Regions from separate parts of the Homo sapiens genome. Here all the other regions are linked to region 2. Evidence: promoter capture Hi-C in 16 types of primary human blood cells and fetal thymus (Javierre and others, 2016). All regions are on one chromosome and are shown on one strand. Each heading gives the region's core, a stretch centred on a gene start or on the middle of the fragment in contact. The rest is flanking DNA. Distances are from core to core; before and after follow the strand shown. Region 1 holds the start of EMC7 (ER membrane protein complex subunit 7). Region 2 holds the start of FAM98B (family with sequence similarity 98 member B). Region 3 has its middle 1.9 kb from the start of EMC4. Region 4 overlaps ZNF770 (zinc finger protein 770).

Region 1 (3,328 bases), core at 436-2,935, 4.4 Mb before region 2:
CAAAAAATTAAAAAATTAGCTGGACATGATGGTGTCCGCCTGTAGTCCTATCTACTGAGGAGGCTGAGACAGGAGGATCACTTGAGTACAGAAGTTCGAAGCTGCCATGAACTATGATCTCGCCACTGCACTCCAGGCTGAGTAACAGAAAAAGACCTTGTCTCAAAAAAATAAAAAGAAAGATACAATGAAACATTAAGGGTTGTTTTCCTACTTTGTTTCTAATATACTATTTTTAAACAGAAATTAAATGCTTTTTAAAAGAACTGTATACAGAAGAGTGGCCAAATGGTCAATTAAGGCTTATTCCTAAAGCTTAATGAGAACTTTATCATTAAAACATCATTAATTAGGGTAAACTCTAACGAATGCCCTAATGCCAGATTCTTAATGACAGACAGCAGTAAAATACTGGTTGTAAATTTGTCACTATTTATTAATCTGAGGTTGAATAACCACTCAAGGGCACTTAGATGATCTGAACAAATATGTAAATCAGATTTGGATTTAAATGTCTACATTTAAGTTGTCTGATTTTCAGATACCATTTGCTGGTGTACGAACCCACCAAAGGAAATACTTCCTAATTATTTGCTTTCAGTTTACAGTTTCACCTCCAAGTAAGGGTGGAAAGATTTAAAACAACATACGCGTGCCTAGACATTTCAAAAGCAGGCTGCTGCAAAACTAGTGCTAACAAATTCATCCTGTCTTTTAATATAGACAGAAAACCCACTTCCACTAATAGCATGAAAGGACAGAAGCAAGAAAGCAATGTAGAGGAACCCTAGTCTCACATAAATGACAAGTGTGATATAGCAAATCTCTCGATGAATTCAACTGTAAAAAAGAACAACGATCCCACCCCCAAGCAAAAAAAAAAAGAAAAAAAAAGTGCTTTGATTAGGGATTTCAGAGCCTATTAATTTTAGAAGCAGTAACATTAGCCTCCCAGTCTATGTCGTCACTAGAAGCCCTTTGGGTTTTGAGAATTCCCACTTGTGTCGCATCTTTCTACATAATAACAAGCTACCAAAAGACTGAAGTGAATGCAAAAAACGACTAGGTTCTAGGGAAACCAGATGAGATATAAAAGAATCCAACAAGAGACTAATAAGGGTCCACCTGTCCCCAGGGCCCAGGAATGATCGTCCCCACATGGGGCCAAAATAAGGTTGGAAATAACTGACTCCATGCTCTGACCATGGCAGGGGGTGAGCGCCTGCCATGCTCATTCCAGAGGTACAGGACCAGGAAAGGGAAAGCATCCGACTGCCTCCCAAGGTCTCCCGGCATAGACCGTTAGCGGCACCCTCCCCTTCAGTCTGAGACAGCGACGTTGTCCCGTCCTGACACTTAACTCTCCTGGTGGGGTCCCTGTCCGGCCTCCATCCCAGCCTTTTTCCCGCTGCCCTCAGGATGCTCACTTAAGGAAACCGACGTGCTCTTCTCCGTCTACCAGCACTCGGGCCGCCGAGATCCAGTCCTGAGGCTTCACCCCTGGAACAACTGCACGCCCCTCAATCTTGAAGCGATCTCCTATGCCGACCCCACTCCCTCCCGATCCCTCAGCAGCAGCCCCGGGCACCTCCGAGCTCTGGACATCCCCCGATAGCAGCAGCAGCAGCAGGACGGGAAAGAAGCCCCACAGAGCGGCCGCCATGACAGCAGCTCTGCACTCAGACCGGCAGCCCCGGAAGCCCTCCCAGTCTCCCGGCCGCCACCGCCGCCGCTGGCGGCTTGATGTTGTCATCACTGCGCGCCCGTTTCTGTCATAAGCTGTGGGATCCAACCAGAGGGAAGAGATCATGGCCGATCGACTAGCGAGGCGGAAGTAAGGCGGAAGTACTGCCCTTAACTCCCGGCACTCTGGATTGGAAGACGGCGCACAGAGCCTGTGTCAAGTGCCTATGAAGGGGACTGCCCATGAAGTGAAAGTCAAGTGTGTGTTGCTGCGGCAGCCACGGAGGCCAAGGACCTCACGGGAGTAAAAGATGACGAGACTGGCTTCGGGAGAAACACCATCCAGAAGAGACCTTTCAAAAAACTTCTAGAGACTCCCCAAGACGTATGAGATGAAAGGCTTCTTCTGTCTGTGTGCGTTTAACTCATTTCTCCTTAGCCCCGAGATTACGCGCTGCTGTGCCTGCGACTGCAGCGTTTACGCCGAGATAACTCGTGGATTACAGTGCCAACCTTACTCCCAAAGTTTGCCACGAAATATCTCGCTTCTGTTATTTTCGCATGGTTCTGGTATATTGACTTTTGAAACAAAAGACATCATTCTGTTTATAGCATTCTGTTTTTAGTAGTGGGATTTCCATCTACAAAATATAGTAATTCTCGATCGCTGAAATGTCAAATCCTAGAAAACGTAGCATTCCTATGCGTGATAGTAATACCGGTCTCGAACAGTTGTTGGCTGAAGATTCATTTGATGAATCTGATTTTTCGGAAATAGATGATTCTGATAATTTTTCGGATAGTGCTTTAGAAGCCGATAAGATCAGGCCTCTGTCCCATTTAGAATCTGATGGAAAGAGCTCTACATCAAGTGACTCAGGGCGCTCCATGAAATGGTCAGCTCGTGCTATGATTCCACGTCAAAGGTATGACTTTACCGGCACACCTGGCAGAAAAGTCGATGTCAGTGATATCACTGACCCATTGCAGTATTTTGAACTGTTCTTTACTGAGGAATTAGTTTCAAAAATTACTAGAGAAACAAATGCCCAAGCTGCCTTGTTGGCTTCAAAGCCACCGGGTCCGAAAGGATTTTCGCGAATGGATAAATGGAAAGACACTGACAATGACGAGCTCAAAGTCTTTTTTGCAGTAATGTTACTGCAAGGTATTGTGCAGAAACCTGAGCTGGAGATGTTTTGGTCAACAAGGCCTCTTTTGGATACACCTTATCTCAGGCAAATTATGACTGGTGAAAGATTTTTACTTTTGTTTCGGTGCCTGCATTTTGTCAACAATTCTTCTATATCTGCTGGTCAATCAAAGGCCCAGATTTCATTGCAGAAGATCAAACCTGTGTTCGACTTTCTTGTAAATAAATTTTCCACTGTATATACTCCAAACAGAAACATTGCAGTTGATGAATCACTGATGCTGTTCAAGGGGCCATTAGCTATGAAGCAGTACCTCCCGACAAAACGAGTACGATTTGGTCTGAAGCTATATGTACTTTGTGAAAGTCAGTCTGGTTATGTGTGGAATGCGCTTGTTCACACAGGGCCTGGCATGAATTTGAAAGATTCAGCGGATGGCCTGAAATCATCACGCATTGTTCTTACCTTGGTCAATGACCTTCTTGGCCAAG
Region 2 (3,241 bases), core at 125-2,624:
AATCCCAGCTACTCGGGAGGCTGAGGCAGGAGAATCGCGTGAACCCGGGAGGCGGAGTTTGCAGTGAGCTGAGATCATGCCACTGCACTCTAGCCTGGGCGACAGTGCGAGACTGAAAAAAAAAAAAAAAGTGTGTGGCACCTCCCTGCCTCCCTGCACCCTCTCTCTTCCTCTTACTCCGGCCACGTGATAGCTGCACTCCCCCTTCCCCTTCTGCCACAACTGTCCATTTCCTGAGGCCTCCCCAGGAGTGGAGCAGATGCCAGCATCATGCTTCGTGTACAGCCTGTGGAACCATGAGCCAATTAAACCCCTTTTCTTTATAAATTACCCAGTCTCAGGTATATCTTTATAGCAATATGAGAGTGGACTACTACAGCTTACCTTTGAGTGTTTTACACATTTATGGGTATGCTTTTTGTTTGTAACCATAATTAGGAAGGCGAGAGCATTACTGGTCTTTATTGGACTGGGGCTACGAATGCTATGTAGTCTGCAATGGAAGGGACAGGTCCATACAAGGGATCAATAGTTATACTTCATGCAGGATTTCCAACAGTTCTGCTAGAGTATTCATGTAGGTGACATGCCTGCTAATAATGATCTAACCTTATACTCTTAGTACCTTTTACATATGAACCCTAAAATACATTTTTTAAATCCTTTAGATAAGAGATTGAATTCTTCATGGATAGTACACAGAGGGTATATTATGTTTTGTTTGTTTGGAACTTTACAGAGAATTCGCCACAATTTTGGAAAACCACATCAACTACCTTACTTTGCTGGCGGTATGTTTGTTGCTTATACAACTAATGCTTTGTCAGCAATGAAGCACATCATCTGAATATGCAGTTGAGGGGATTCTACATAGATAGATGCAAGCATCTGATCACTTCATTGGTCTTCCGCATTTCATAAGGAGAAAAATATTACCTTGTTATAAATTACTTCATTTTTTCCTTCAAGTTGAAGCATCGTCGTGTATATTGATTTAAAAATTATATGTGTAGGCATGTGATATTAGTTACTAATTTTAGCTGAAGATAATTATAATTTTATTTCAGATTTCTGTTATTAAAAAGGTCTGGAATCGGATAGGTTGAGATCAACCCGATACCACGATATTTGCTAAAATTTATTTGAACACACAGAAAAGTCCCAACACAGAGAACTCTTTATTACTATTATTTATTATTTCTACTATTCTTTTAAAAAATTATTATCGTTACACGCAGCGGTTTTAGGCACTATGAAGTGTTTATTGCCTCGGGGCTGGGAACCTTTGCGCCCTTCTTCAGCTGTGCTCTCAGGCAGTTACCGGCCAGACCCGGACCGGAACCTTGGCGCGGTGACGCTAGTTTCCGGCGGGCTACTTAGAGCGCCGAACAGCTCTGGGCCAAAGGACCATGAGAGGGCCGGAGCCGGGTCCCCAACCGACGATGGAGGGAGACGTGCTGGACACACTGGAGGCGCTGGGGTGAGTGCTTTTGGAGACGCCTTTTCCCTGAAAACGCAACCTCTCCTTGGCCTGGCTGCTTAGCCTACTTCCCTTGGGCCTCTGTGGGCCTGGGCGGCCATGTGTAGGCCTCCTTCCCTGCCTCGATCCCTCCGGCGCCGACGGAGTTAAGCGGGAGGCGGGAGAGAAATCTATTTGGGGGGTGGAGCAGGGCCGGAGAGCTGGGGTTCGTGGCCCCCTCTTCGAAACTTCTTGCCTCGAAACTCTGTTGCAGGAATCCGCCGGGTGGCGCGGAGCGGCCCTTCTAGCACCGGTTTTCTGGGCTAGCTCGCGCCCGCAGGTGATATTTGTGTTGACGTAGTTCTGGCGCCCGGAGGGAGGTGCTGGAACCTGAGCTGCTGTTGAGGACTGTTGTCTCCTACAATGTACAACTTGTGGCTTACTTGGGGCTCTGGAGCGAATGGCTTTTACTTTGACCGGAGAAAGTGTTGTAGTTCATTGCGAGTTCGTTCTTTCAACCATTTCGTCCGTTCGTCAACGTGTATATTAGCTTGTATATTAATTTACACATATTTACGTTTGTAAATTTCCCCTAGGCAAGGGAAAAGGATAGTTTTTCAGATTACTCTTGGCTTACATAGTCGCGCAGGCTGCAAGTCTGCTGCCGGCTGGTATTTACAGTGCAGAATGGTAAGTGCTGTGAGAACTCAGGGTGGAGGTGGGAGTAATGTTAATACTTAACAAGTGTGGTGGTTCGTAATCTCCCCCTCAACCTCATCCTGTTTTTTTCCACACAGCTCTTGTCCCCATCCCAAATTATCATGTCCTGCCCATTCATTTGTCTCTTGAACTCTGCTTCTCCCTCGTTTTATTCCTCCTCCTCCCCAAGTCAGCTCCTGGAAAACTGATGCTTTGCATATTTTATTCACCGATGTTTTCCCAGCAACACACTAGAACGGAGTCTTTTACAGTAAATAGTGGTTGAATGAATGAGTAAATGAATGAAGAAAAGCTTAGAGAAGAGTCCACAGCAGTAAGCATAGGACCAGATAGTTGAGTCATACAGTGCACATTAAATAAAGAGCTTGGAGCCATCTGCACATTTGTTTGCCCTGCTACGTGCTGCTGTTTCTTGATAGGGGAAGCTGTGCCTTTGCAGCGTTATTATGAAGCTTGAACCAATCCCACACCCCACTTTATCTTCTCTAAAACTGCATTTGCCCCTCTATCAATTGTTTCTTTAGTTGAACCCTGATAATACCTACTTTGCAGTGACCCAGGGTTACGGAGTCTTGCACTTAGTAGATCGTGAATACATATTTGTCAAACGAAAGAACAGTGCCATTGATTATTTAGGGGGCATTTTTACTTCTGTGAAGTCCCTTGGAAGTTCTCACTTAACTTGGTTAAGAAGGAACCAAAACAAGAACTGAAAATACTTAGTAGAATTATTTAGGCTCCAAACAGTTTGAGCTCCCAAGTACTTCAGGTAAGAATATTGGGAACTCATAAATGGTTTATGAAAAAGGAAAAGGCAGTGCTTTTCTTCTTTCTTCATTTCTTGAACTTATTGTTCATATTATAAGTGTTTTAGAAAATTCATTGCTATAATCTTGATTTTTATCAAGGAAAATTAGTCAGATTATTCAACATGGAAAGTAAAACAGTTTACACACTCCAAAATTAGTTTTTCCTGGAATAACTATGAGGGCAACATTTTGAAGTTTGAATTCTCCTATGATAATACGATGTGAAAAAAGTAGTTATTTACAATATGTGTTG
Region 3 (3,512 bases), core at 943-3,442, 4.2 Mb before region 2:
TTACACATTTTTATAGCAAGTAGGGGAGTATTTAAGTAGAAAGAATATATGATTCCAATGACTAACTTAATGTTTTCAAAAGTGTTCATTTAAAACTTATTAAAGCAGGGCCAGGTGTGGGCTCATGCCTGTAATCCCAGCACTTTGGGAGGCCAAGGCGGGAGGACTGCTTAAGCTCAGGAGTTTGAGACAAGCCTGGGCAACACAGTGAGACCCTGTCTCAAAAAAATAGTAAGTAAAAAAAAATTATTAAAATGTGGCTAGGAGCAGTGGCTCACGTCTGTAATCCCAGCACTTTGGGAGGCTGAGGCAGGCAGATCACGAGGTCAGGAGTTCGAGATCAGCCTGGCCAATGTGGTGACACCCTGTCTCCACTGAAAATACAAAAATTAGCCAGGCGTAGTGGCACACATCTGTAGTCTCAGCTACTTGGGAGGCTGAGGCAGAAGAATTGCTTGAACCTGGGAGGCGGAGGTTGCAGTGAGCCGAGATTGCGCCATTGCACTCCAGCCTGGCAACAGAGCAAGACTCCATCTCAAAAAAAAAAAAAAAAAAAAAAGTATTAAAATGTAATAAGAAGGCCAGGTGTAGTGGCTTATGCCTGTAATCATCACTTTGCGTGGGCGAGGTGGGTGGATCACCTGAGGTCAGGAGTTTGAGACTAGCCTGGCCAACACAGTGAAACCCCATTTCTACTAAAAATACAAAAATGAACAGGGCGTGGTGGCGGGCACCTGTAATCCCAGCTACTCAGGAGGCTGAGACAGGAAAATTGCTTGAACCTGGGAGGCAGAGGATGCAGTGAGCCAAGATCGTGCCACTGCACTTCAGCCTCGGTGACAGAGTGAGACTCTGTCTCAAAAAAAAAAAAGAAAAGTGTAATAAGATTATCTTGAAAATTAGACAAAATTGCGTGAAAATTATTGCCCCAATAGAATGTATATCCATTTTTATGTTTTATTTTGCACAAGTGTAGTTATAGTACATTCACATCTTGGTGTTTGTTTACTTTCAATTTAATTTACTCACATTCGCTAAACATTTATTCAGTACTTTCTATGTTCTAGGCAACAGGCTCAAAGATAATATATAGCTTCTGACCTGGGGGGATTTAGGGTTGCCTATAGAGGGGTAGAAATAAGTGCTCAGGGGACTTTAACAAACAAAATGCAATGTGGTAAGTGCTATTATGCAGCATATAATGCAACAAAGAAGAATGCCCAATAGGGTCAGAAGCTTGAGATAAATATAAGGTTCATGAGACAGAACGTGGTAAAGACAAAAAGTAGAAAGGAGCAGAAACACAATCTATAGTTAGGTCTTCCTACAATCAGATAGATACACATTTTAGGATGGATTGGAGAGGCAAAAGACTTCCATTTCTGCCTTGTTTAAGTAGTCTGCTATGAACACATATTTTTAAAATCAGAAAATAAAGTGGAGGTGGCAATCTTCAGCCTCTCTTACATCATCATCATCTTCAAGAGTCCCAACTTTTTTGTTGGCCAAGGAAGCCTTTTTCAACCTTACCTCCCACAGCATCTCCTTCCCCCTAACTCCAGCCATATCGAATAACTTGGAGTCAAAGAAATACAAATTAAAAAATAATACAGTACCATTTCAAACTATTAAAAAAATTATAGACTGTGAAATGTAAATGGTGCCATTTTTCCTAGTGGACATTTTAATTTTTTTTGTTGTTGTTTGCAGAGGCAAGGTCTCACTATGTTGCCTAGGCTGGTCTTGAACTTCTGAGCTAAAGCAATCCTCCTGCCTCAGCCTCCCAAAGTTCTGGGATGACAGGTGTGAGCCACCACGCCTGGCTCCTGTGGGCATTTAAAATGAAAATTCTTTAAAAATGTGCATACTCTTTGATCCAGCAACTCCAATTTCACTTCTAGGACTATAACTTTAGGAAATAAGAAAAGACATACAGATATGTTCACAGCAACACTGGTTATAAAAGGAAGGAAAACAGGAAACAATTTAAATGTCCAATAATAGGCTATATTATGAAAAAGGTATACCATACAAAACCCAATCACTTTAAAGAATGACATACATTATTTAATGACACGTCATTAAAAACACATCAATGGTGTTATTTGGTAATGATGTGATACATCATTAAAAACACCACATAACCTAGCACTTTGGGAGGCCGAGGCAGGCAGATCACCTGAGGTCGGGAGTTCGAAACCAGCCTGACCAACACGGTGAAATCCCATCTCTACTAAAAATACAAAATTAGCTGGACGTGGTGGCGTGCGCCTGTAATCCCTGGTACTCGGGAGGCTGAGGCAGGAGAATTGCTTGAACCCGGGAGACGGAGGTTGCAGTGAGCCGAGATAGTGCCATTGCACTCCAGCCTGGGCAACAAAAGCAAAACTCCGTCTCGAACAAAAACACAAACAAACCAAACACCAGATATGTGGTGGGCACTAATCTCACAAGCCTTGAAAGTAGGTAGATTATCCAACTTTTACATGAAGAGGCTGAAACAAATTCAACTTGCCCAAGGTCATACAATTATTAAGTGGTGAAACCAGGATTCAAAAGGAGGCCATCTGCTGGGTGCAGTGGCCCATGCCTTTGTAATCTCAACATTTTGGGAGGCCAAGGCAGGAGAATCACTTGAACCCAAGAGTTTGAGAGCAGCCTGAGCAACATAGCGAAACCCTGTCAAAACAAAACAAAACAAAACAAAACAAGACTGGGGCGTGGTGGCGCGCCCTGTGGTCCTAGCTCCTCGGAACGCTCAGGTTGGAAGGAACGCTCAGGTGGGAAGATCGCTTGAGCCGGGGAAGTCGAGGCTGCAGTGAGCCGTGATAGCGCCACTGCACTACAGCCTCGGCAACGGAGTGAAACCCTGTCTCAAAAAACAAACCCAAAACAAACAACAACAAACGCAGGCTAACTGAATACCGAGCCCATGTCCCCTTCCATGCCCACAATGCTGCCTTGCCTTTGTGCAGAATGTGGTTAGAACTGTTTACCTCGCAAGGTTACTGTGCAAGTGAAATGAAATAAACACATGACACAGTGGACATTCAATACTCAGAAACTACTAAGTAACTCGCTCAAGGTCAAGCTAGGATTTAAACCCAGGATTTGAATCTTTTGTTCCAGGGAGCGCGTAGGAGGTTAAGAAGCTTTTCTTGGCTTCCTTTTTTTTTTTTTTGAGACAGAGTTTCGCTCTTGCTGCCCAGGCTGGCGTGCAATCGCTCGGTCTCAGTTCACTGCAACCTCCGGCTCCCGGATCCAAGCGATTCTCCTGCCTCAGCCTCCTAAGTAGCTGGGATTACAGGCGCCCGCCACTAAGCCCGGCTAATATTTTGTATTTTTAGTAGAGACGGGGTTTCACCATGTTAGCCAGGCTGGTCTCGAACTCCTGACTTCAGGTGATCCGCCCACCAATTCTTAACGCTGAGTCAGTATGGGCTTTCCTTCAGCCCCATAAAGTGCACCTCAGAGGTCAGGGAACACATAACAAGGACATTCAAAAGGGGAGC
Region 4 (3,070 bases), core at 124-2,623, 3.5 Mb before region 2:
TCATACAAGCACAACACTGTTAGGACTCTCCCTGTTTAGGCTGGGAAAAACATTATACAAAACATTTTCTTCAAATAAAATTACATAAATTGCTTAGAAAAATGCCAAAATCAATAATTTCAAACATATTAAGGAGAAAACCTTGAACATTATTGGAAAATATAAACTAGTTATTCCTTGCTTTTAACAGATGAGTTCTTGACAAGTTTTGTGTAAAGCAAATTCTGTAAACCATTATCTTGCTTGCACTGGAGGAACATATCTCAAGGAAACCTAAGAGAAAGTGTTCTTTAAAGCATGTGATTCTCCTGTTTTTGCTGGATGTCTGTATCTACATAATAAACAGGCACACTTCTACATCACTGGGTATTTTACTCAGACTGTCATGTTTCATCTCTGTAAATTAAACCCAAGTTACTTAAAAATCACCTGTGGTAAAAGAAGCAAGCAGATCACCCCCACCTACTATCCCTCCCGCCTCCCCCCTGTCAAAAGAAAGTTCTCAGTTTATGATGCAAAACTTACAATTGTTCATTTATCCACATTCTCAATAGAGGATTTTCCACTATATTTAAGTATGGCAGGATAATTACCCACCTGTTCCTCTTTTCAGCTTAGAAACATAACGGTTCATTCCTTTTATTGCTAGAGAATGTCATTCCTGAAGATTTTATAAACAAAGGCAAATATGAAGGAAAATTTGTAATTATGAAATAAGTCCTTTGTAGTAAAGAATATTTCCCAAATCATAACAGTTCTATTTGGAATGATACCCACAACTCTACAAGCATCTTATCCCTCTACAGGAATGACTACCTTATTAATTAAAATAAAAATTTAACAAGCATCAAAATAAAATTCTTTAGCAATAGACTCCTGCAAAAATAAAAACTAAAACTAGACCTAGTCATTGCCATTTGATCAAACTTAGAACAGGCTTAAATAACAGAACCACTCCATTAAAGAGGCATAGAAAGAAAAGTTTACTAAAATAAATGTAAAAGTCTTATGGAGATGAAGATCTCTAGAATAGTCTTAAGTCTATGACTACTGCTATCATTAATGAGCAAATAAATGACTTGAAATTATTCCTCTGAAAAGGTAAAACTCATACGTATTATGAAAAAGACTATGGCACTTAGAAAATATTCCTGGTAAGTAAACATGGTAAATATAGGTACATCCTAGCCTCTCGCCTACTTTTAAATTATTTTGAGAAAGATAGCACTAGCTGGGAGAAAAAAAAAATCCTTATCACCTGAAGGTGAAATTACCACATAGTCCTAAAAATAAATAGCTTTGAAAAGACCGTCGGGTGCGGTGGCTCATGCCTGTAATCCCAGCACTTTGGGAGGCCGATGCGGGTGAGTCACAAGGTCAAGAGATCGAGACCATCCTGGCCAACTTGGTGAACCCCCGTCTCTACTAAAAATACAAAAATTAGCCAGGCGTGATGGCAGGCACCTGTAATCCCAGCTACTCAGGAGGCTGAGGCAGGAGAATCGCTGGAATCTGGGATGCGGAGGTTGCAGTGAGCCTAGATGGCGCCACTGCACTCTAGCCTGGCGAAAGAGTGAGACTCCATCTCAAAAAAAAAGACCAATGAAAATAATACTATAATTGTCTCATCCATTTTCACCTTTAGTGTCTCTGTAGTTTTTTTAACTTACAAAAAAAAAAAAAAAATTACCAATGCAATTTGAGTCACATGTGGACAAAATTATGCTTTCATATGAAATGTAAAATAAATCAAATATAACAGGGCTATGTGCTGCAGCTAAAAGCCAAGTTTTGCCTCTCAGTCTTTTGAGTATATCTAAAAAGAGATGGCATGTCTTAAGGAATAATTCCTTTAAAAAATGAATGAGGCTAAATTATTTGTACAGCCATCATGGATTTATATTTTTCAATACAGCCAAAGTATATGTTTACAATATTAAAATGCCTACTTTATAGCATCAAATCATGTTCTTGCCTCTAAAATTAACTTGGCTGTTTCTAAAACATTGTATTAATTTTCTATGTATTCTACCTCCTTACTATGCAGGACAAGCAAATGCCTGTGAAACCATTCAGTTTAATGCAGGCCTTTCAATAAAAATGCATTTTAAATAATACAGGCTTTAAAAATAAGATCACCAGAGACCACAATTGTTAGTGGTTGCGACAATTTACATAACCGAATCTAAGGCAACCACTTTCCCTTGTGGTCGTTCTTTAAAGTGAGTAAGCTGATGTCTCTTCCAGTGAGGAGCCTGTCTGAATGTTTTGCCACAAACTGAGCATTCAAATGGTTTCTGCCCTGCATGAATTAGGTAGTGTCTTTCCAGTTTAGATGGAGATCGGAAACTTTTAGCACAAACACTGCATCGGTACAGGAAGACATCATTTTTCTCCTGATGCTCTGAATAACTGCAAAAAGGATTGCTTTGCTCTGATTCCAAAAGTACATTAGGAAGACAGGGTTGCCCGGTGCTACCAGGAATAAAATCCTGTGACTCTGCCTTAACTCCTGACATTTGATCTGACTCTGAGACCTCGTATTTTTGAACACCAGGAGCCTGACATTGTTGGGAAGCATTATAGTTAACATTATTACCTGAATGATTAGAAAGATTGTTGAAGTTTCCAAATTCTACTTGGCAAAGAGATGCATAAGGACTCTTTTCATTATGAGTCTGTTCATGTCTTTTTAAGTGAGCTGACTGTCTAAAAGATTTCCCACAAATATTACAGCCAAAGGGCCTCTGTCCAGTATGAATTAAATAGTGTCTTTTTAGTTTGGATATAGAAGGAAATACCTTCTCACATTTGTCACAAGGACATATCTTATGTCTAGTACGTATGTTTTCCCTTGGAACTGAAAAACCACACTGAAGTACCTCACAGTTATTAAAGAATTCCTCACCTGATGAACCACAGATTGACAAGTCTTTCTTATTCACTGAATTATCAATGCTTAATATGTTTTCTGTCGTAAGGATGCCTTTCAAATTTTTTCCCATATTTTGCCAAGAAAATGGCAAAGTCAATGTTTTCTTCTTTCTATTGCCAATTGTTTTATATGTTC

What was found. The method cuts DNA at HindIII sites, captures the fragments that hold promoters and counts their contacts. A CHiCAGO score of 5 or more calls a contact.
Region 1: a contact is called between the fragment with the promoter of EMC7 here and the fragment with the promoter of FAM98B in region 2, in 1 of 17 cell types (non-activated CD4 T cells). The highest score is 5.3, in non-activated CD4 T cells.
Region 3: a contact is called between a fragment that was not itself captured here and the fragment with the promoter of FAM98B in region 2, in 4 of 17 cell types (total B cells, non-activated CD4 T cells, naive CD4 T cells and 1 more). The highest score is 7.9, in total B cells.
Region 4: a fragment that was not itself captured here is called in contact with the fragment with the promoter of FAM98B in region 2 in 5 of 17 cell types (total CD4 T cells, non-activated CD4 T cells, naive CD4 T cells and 2 more); the score reaches 5.8 in total CD4 T cells.

The regions. Positions count from the first base shown.
Region 1 is chr15:34,100,177-34,103,504 of GRCh38, forward strand. EMC7 (ER membrane protein complex subunit 7) reads right to left here and starts at 1,686. Exons shown (of 5, transcript NM_020154.3): 1 at 1,428-1,686. The coding sequence starts at 1,663. It overlaps PGBD4 (piggyBac transposable element derived 4), which reads left to right and starts at 1,907. Exons shown (of 1, transcript NM_152595.5): 1 at 1,907-3,328. The coding sequence starts at 2,356. RefSeq lists enhancers at 830-1,687, 1,297-1,996, 2,027-2,116. The HindIII fragment of the contact is 6,792 bases long and covers 314-3,328 here.
Region 2 is chr15:38,452,753-38,455,993 of GRCh38, forward strand. It overlaps FAM98B (family with sequence similarity 98 member B), which reads left to right and starts at 1,375. Exons shown (of 8, transcript NM_173611.4): 1 at 1,375-1,480. The coding sequence starts at 1,410. RefSeq lists enhancers at 1,523-1,632, 1,693-1,792. The HindIII fragment of the contact is 3,660 bases long and covers 1-2,469 here.
Region 3 is chr15:34,221,362-34,224,873 of GRCh38, forward strand. No RefSeq gene overlaps it. Among named protein-coding and RNA genes, the nearest start is that of EMC4, 1.9 kb to the right of the region's middle. The HindIII fragment of the contact is 1,916 bases long and covers 1,235-3,150 here.
Region 4 is chr15:34,979,188-34,982,257 of GRCh38, forward strand. It overlaps ZNF770 (zinc finger protein 770), which reads right to left. Exons shown (of 3, transcript NM_014106.4): 3 at 1-3,070. The coding sequence ends at 2,172. Among named protein-coding and RNA genes, the nearest start is that of ZNF770, 7.6 kb to the right of the region's middle. The HindIII fragment of the contact is 3,691 bases long and covers 1-3,070 here.